Linked DNA regions of Homo sapiens: region 1 is linked to region 2. The links are contacts of gene promoters, found by promoter capture Hi-C in human tissues and cell types (Jung and others, 2019). All regions are on one chromosome and are shown on one strand. Each heading gives the region's core, a stretch centred on a gene start or on the middle of the fragment in contact. The rest is flanking DNA. Distances are from core to core; before and after follow the strand shown. Region 1 has its middle 53 kb from the start of LINC03040. Region 2 holds the start of MRPS18A (mitochondrial ribosomal protein S18A).

Region 1 (2,994 bases), core at 479-2,978, 260 kb before region 2:
GCTAACCAGCCTCAGCTCTTTCTCACTGGGATGCTGGACTGCTGGAGGTGAGAATGCTGAGTTTTGGCCAAGAGGGTAATATAGGCCTGTTAGGATATGCTAGTGAGGCCAGCTCCCATGCTAACAGCAGGGACTCAACCATGGTGACAAATGATGAATGGACACCTGGAATTCTCTAGGGCTTGTTTCACGGCCCTTGTCCTTGGCCCCATCCCCCTCAACATTTTTATCAATTGCTTGAATGGAGACCTGAGAAGCTCCCCTCCCTCTGTTTGCAGATGACCCACAGCTGAGAGGAGCAGGCTTGGCAGCACAATGAGGATTCAAAATTAGCCTGACAGTGCCTGGAACAATGGGTAAAACCAACAAGAGAGATCAACAGTAGGCATAAGTGACAAGTCCAGCTCTAGGGAGAGAAAAAAATCAAGTCAAAAGGCACATGGGGATTGATCCTACAGAAATGCTGACTTATGTGCAAAAGGAGTCCTGGCAACATGGCCTTAAATGCTGCAAAGGCCTAGAAACAACCAAAATGTCCACCAGTAGGGGATTGGTTGAATACTTTAGGTAGATCCACACAATGGAAGGCTATGGGCCTGATACAGAGAATGAGCCAAGGAATTATGTACGGATAAGGAAAATTCCCCAAGATACCTGGTTAAGTGAAAAAGCAAGGTGCCCGACAGTGCACACTGATAGTGTAGACTATGCAGCTCTTTGTATGATTAGGAATGTGTGTCTCCGTTTGTATATGTACAGATCATCTGCAGACAGATACACAAGAAAAGTGTATCTGAAAAGTGGCTGGCTGGGGTCTTGCTTTGTACTGTATGTATATCTTTTGTGTATTTTTTTGTGCCATATATATATTTGTGTGTGTGTGTGTGTGTGTGTGTGTGTAAATGGATAAAGCAGCCCTTGTATCAATTCTAGTGAAAAAGACCTGTAAGTCTGGCCCACCATAAACTCACTGAGCGCTAATTAAAAACAAAAACAAACAAACAAACAAAAAACACCAAACTGACTGTAATGTGAGGTTATACCCACAGGAACACAGGGCCCTGACAGGAGGTATATGTTCTGCTATGCTCTGAGCTGGTCAGGCTGTACTCGGAGTGTGGGGTCTCTCTGAGGAGCCATGTTTGAGGAGAAACATTGGCAGTTAGAACAGACCTAGGGGAACAGCTTGGCTGGGGTGGGAGCAGGGTAGAGGAGAGAACCTTGGTGGGCTTGGAGATGCTGGAGGAATGGAGAGCTATCGAGTTTGGACAAGATGCCTGTGCCTGTGGGATGGGAGAGGAATATGCTGACTCTCTCTGGTTTACTAAAGGACTGGCATGCAGAAGCAGGAGGAACCTGATTATTTTATTTGTTCTGAAGAACAGAACTTGGATCAATGGTTTGGAAGGTACAGAGAGGTAAATCTTGGCCTTAGGAAGTCCTATCAAGAATTGGAACAGCCCACTAGTACAGGAATGGGCTCCCATCACCAGGTGTTTTCAGGTAGCCACTGTGATCATCTATCTAGGATGTTGGAGTGAGCATTGACAATCACCAGGGCCCATATTCTTGGGCTCACTACAGGCTTATTGAAACTGAATCCCTGTAGTTAAAGTCTAGAAATCTGCTTTACTTATTTATTTTTACCTCAGATATAGATAATTGATTCAATTATACTCATTGATTCCCAGCATCCTAACAGTAGTCTATTCAAAGCCCCCTTGAAATGTTACTTTTCATTGTATTTTTTCTCCTTCACCTACATTTCCACTCTCATTCTTCCCGCCTTCCGACCAGACCTAGACCTTCATTCTATGTGTTTGATATAGGTCTTTAAATATGCATCTTCTTTGTATGCCGGGTGGTGGTGTTTTCTGCATGTTTTATAATTTATATAAATGGTACTATGCTGTAATTCTCCTTCTGTTTCTCACTTTTTTCATTCAACATTGCTATTAAGATCTATGTCTGTACATCTGGCCTGTTTCTAACTGCCACTTGGAAAGAAGCCACCCACCTTACTTATCTACTCCTCCAGGGATGAACATTTATGTTGCCTCCGACTTCCTACTACCCCAAATTTTGCTGCCACAAGCACCATGTACAAGTCCTCTTTCATTCCTGCATGATCATTCTCCCCTGCTATAGACCCATTTGTGAGATTCTGGGATGCAGGCCATACACATATTTAGTTTCACTAGATACAGACAGATTGCTCTCAGAATGGCTGTACTAGTTTATCCTCTCGCCTATAGGACACAAGAGTCCCATCTCCCTATACTGAGCATGATCCACCTTTCTAATTTGTGCCATTCACTTAGGCGTGAAGCTATATTATTGTTTGAAGCATGCATCTCTCTGATGACTAGTGAATTAGCATATCTCTTCATCAGCCACTGCACTCCCTCTTTTAGGATGTGCCTATTCATATTTTTTGCCCATTTTTTTTTTCTATTGAGTTTCCTGTCTTTTTCTTGATGATTAACAGGAGTTCCTTGACTATTTTCTTTCTCTCTCTCTCTCTCTCTCTTCTGGCTCCAGTGCTCAACCTTGAGCTTGACTATTTTACATATTAATCGCTGCCAGGTTTTTAAGTGGCAAATGTCTTCTCCCAGTTGGAGAATCTCCCATCTTAGCAAGTGTACTAAGGATCAGCCAGGTTTGGGAAGCCCAAGGACAGATATATGCCACCCGAAATCATTTCTAATTCTGCCATTTCATGCTTTCTTGGGCTTTCTGAGGAGATTCCTTGCCACTTCTGTGGGGAAAACAGACTTCAGGAGGGGCGAGGGTGGGTGAGGGTTGGGGAGTCATTGTGAATGTGGATGTGGAGCTGGGGTGCCACCTGCATTTTGACCACCTCTAGCAGCAAAGCATTGTGTTGTGAAGATGTTTATGTGACCTGGCTCAGCCAGGCTTGTGAGATCTTCCTGGGGCAGAAGGCTGATAGGCAGTTCATTGGGATAGAGTATAGACCATCTCATTGTTCAGAAG
Region 2 (3,142 bases), core at 298-2,797:
TTTCCATACAGCAGCTGCTCTGCATCCTCCTATTAGGGTGACGGTCCCAACTGGATGATGGGCTCCTCTCCTACTCATCAGAAAACATGCTATGTCATTTAATAAGCCTGATTTTCCCATCTTGAATCAGAGAAGGATAGGAAGAACTGAGTTGTGAATGATTTTCCTTTCCTGTGGAGCTCCAGAGGAACATCCTATACGTCTCACAAATCTGAAAGAGGAAAAACTGGCAGTTGTATTTTCTCTTTGGTACCATAAGCTTCCTTACAACACAAGTGAGTCCAACTTGTGAAAAGAGTCATCTCCATAACTGCTCTATTAACTAGCTTATGTTTATTGAGCCCTTTTGTTTTGTTTTGTTTTGTTTTGTTTTGTTTTTGAGACGGAGTTTCACTCTTGTCGCCCAGGCTGGAGTGCAATGGTGTGATCTTGGCTCACTGCAACCTCCGCCTCCTGGGTTCAAGCGATTCTCCTGCCTCAGCCTCCCAAGTGTCTGGGATTACAGGTGCCCGCCACCACACCCACCTAATTTTTGTATTTTTAGTAGATAGGGTTTCACCATGTTGGTCAGGCTGGTCTTGAACTCCTGACCTCAGGTAATCCACCCGCCTCAGCCTCCCAAAGTGCTGGGATTACAGGCATGAGCCACCACACCCGGCCGATCACTTATGTTTTATCACATCTAATCTTCAGGGTCTAGTCCTCCCCTAGGCCCTATAAAATAGATTCTACTCATTCATTCAACAAGTATATATTGTACTCTTATTATGTGTCAGGAACTATTCTAAGTGCTGGAGATGTGCGAGTCAACAGAAAACAATGTTCCTGACTTCATGGAGCTTACAGTCTGGTGAGAAGACACATACAAAACAAACATAAAACTGAAATTGTCCCAAGCACTAAGATGGAGAGGCATCTGGTGCTGAGAATGGGCAGTCAAGCAAAACTGTGGAAATAAGGTTTGAGGTGAGCTCTAAGAAATAAGCAGAAGCTAACTAGACAGCTAAAGAGCAGACAAAGGAAATAGCTTGTATCAAGGCCCTGGGGCTAGAGAGAGGTCTAAGTATATGCAAATCAAAGATCAGTGTGGCAGTGGTCAGGGAAGAAGGGGGTATCAATTCTATCCCAGGTCTGCCTGATATCCGATACTCCAGAGCCAGAGTTCCTAACCATTTCAGCCTCTCCCGTAGAGGTCTAGCCCCAGTCACAGAAGCTAAAAGTCCACAGCTCACGTGCAGTGAAGAGAAAGCTTTAAAGACATAGGTGGGGTGTTGCGTGCGATTTTCCTAAGGAAGCCTTCCAGGAAACGAATGCAACCTTGAAGACTTGTAGGCATTGGCAGACAGGAGCTAGAAGACCTCCCCTAGATCCTTAACACGAAATATAGGCTTGACGCAGAAGCCTCTCTTCGTATCCCAAAGCGGACAGGTGAGAGAAATGATGTGACAGGAGCAAGCGAACTACAACCCCGCCCCGCCGTTCCTGCCCCACCACTGCGGCGGCGGGCGCTACGTTCCGGAAGCGGAAATGGACGAGAGGTCAGGGTAGGTTTTTGAAGATGGCGGCCCTCAAGGCTCTGGTGTCCGGCTGTGGGCGGCTTCTCCGTGGGCTACTAGCGGGCCCGGCAGCGACCAGCTGGTCTCGGCTTCCAGCTCGCGGGTTCAGGGAAGGTGAGTCATGCGTCCCAGCAACCTCCTGAAATTAAGAAGAGCGGCAGAGACTGCTTCCGCCAGCCCCGGTGCGCTCCTTCCTACCTTTCCTTCGTCCGATTCTGAAACTTTGGAGGTACCGGCTCCCCAGGCGTGCTTAAAAGCCCCTTCCACACCCTGGTGCCTTATCTTGATCTCCTGCCCCTTGTGAGTATCTTCACAAGGCGGAGGAGGACGGAGAGAAAAGCCTGCTTACTTAGCAGGAGCAGACACTAAACCTGTCCTAGGGCTCAGAAAAGTTTTCGGAAAGGGTTTGCATGTTAATTCTTCCTTCCATGTTCTCCGAATCGCAGTCTCTTTTATTAAAGAGTCTCTGGATCACGAAGGAAGGCCATCTGGGTACCCTCCCAGAGCCTCCCTTTCCACTTTCCCTTCTCAAAATGCTGTGATCTGATGGCGGCGTTCTCTGCCCCGGGCCGCTAGTCTCCCTGTGAGGGGGAGGCCAAAGTGGAAAGGCCATTGAATAGCTGAGACATAGGCAAATGCAGGATGGTAGTTCAGCTTTTCATTAATCTTAATCTGGGAAAGCGGCCTGATTCGAGCATCAACTGAGAGTTTACTGAATGCCAAGTGCTATGCTTCAAGCTGTGAAGGAATTCTGGAGACAGAAAATACAGCCCTTTTTCTGAAAAGCTTAGGTTCTAATGAGATTATGTATATACACACTCCAATAAATGCAAGTTAGCCTTTTACGTGACGAAGTACAGGGAGACTCAGTTACTGGAAACGGCAAACCCAGTTGGAAGTTTTCATAAAGAGGATGTGTCTTGAGCAGGCTCACAAAAGGATGGAATCTGGCGGAGAGTGAAACGGTCTTTTAGGACATAGCCTTCCTTTGTGTACTCCTGGAAGCAGGAAAGGATGAGTGATGTGCAAAAGAAGAGATGTGGGGTTTTTTGAGGATCTGGCATAGTATTGGGCAGCATATCCTTTAACGAAAGCTGAGAAGTATCCAGTGGAAAAGAGTGATCATTGTTGTCAGAGGGAGCAGAAAAGTCTAAAAAGGGCCTAATGAAGGGGCCATTGGATTTGTCTCAGAAGAGGTCTCTTTGTAGCTTTCAAACAGCAATTTCAATAGAGTGGCAAACAAGGAATCCAGTTTGGAGAAATGAAAGAGATAGTTGATGAAGAGATGGAAATAGTAAGTATGTTTGAAGAATTTAGCCCGTAAGGGAAGTGGAGCATTTGCTAGAAAAAAAAGTCTGGATATTGCCTGATTAACTTATCCATTAGTAGACCCATTAATAAAGACACTAAAGAAATCATGCAGATGATAGAGAGGACTTGGATGTTTCATTTGTTCCCATGCTGCAAAATAGGCATATCTCCATACCATTTTGGGGAGTCTACCAAGTGTCAAACACTATTGGCTACAATTTGCATATTCTTATGAAATTCAAAGTTGAGGCAGATTTTGCTATGCTTCCAGAAAA

Evidence for each region. The method cuts DNA at HindIII sites, captures the fragments that hold promoters and counts their contacts. A contact is called where the count stands out against the background at its distance.
Region 1: a contact is called between a fragment that was not itself captured here and the fragment with the promoter of MRPS18A in region 2, in 4 of the 25 tissues and cell types used here (IMR-90 fibroblasts, adrenal gland, neural progenitor cells and 1 more).

Annotation. Positions count from the first base shown.
Region 1 is chr6:43,946,233-43,949,226 of GRCh38, reverse strand. No RefSeq gene overlaps it. Among named protein-coding and RNA genes, the nearest start is that of LINC03040, 53 kb to the left of the region's middle. The HindIII fragment of the contact is 7,768 bases long and covers 1-2,994 here.
Region 2 is chr6:43,686,196-43,689,337 of GRCh38, reverse strand. MRPS18A (mitochondrial ribosomal protein S18A) reads left to right here and starts at 1,547. Exons shown (of 6, transcript NM_018135.4): 1 at 1,547-1,670. The coding sequence starts at 1,559. It overlaps LOC124901320 (a long non-coding RNA gene), which reads right to left and starts at 376. Exons shown (of 2, transcript XR_007059586.1): 1 at 1-376. RefSeq lists enhancers at 1,177-1,788, 1,734-1,793. The HindIII fragment of the contact is 2,163 bases long and covers 755-2,917 here.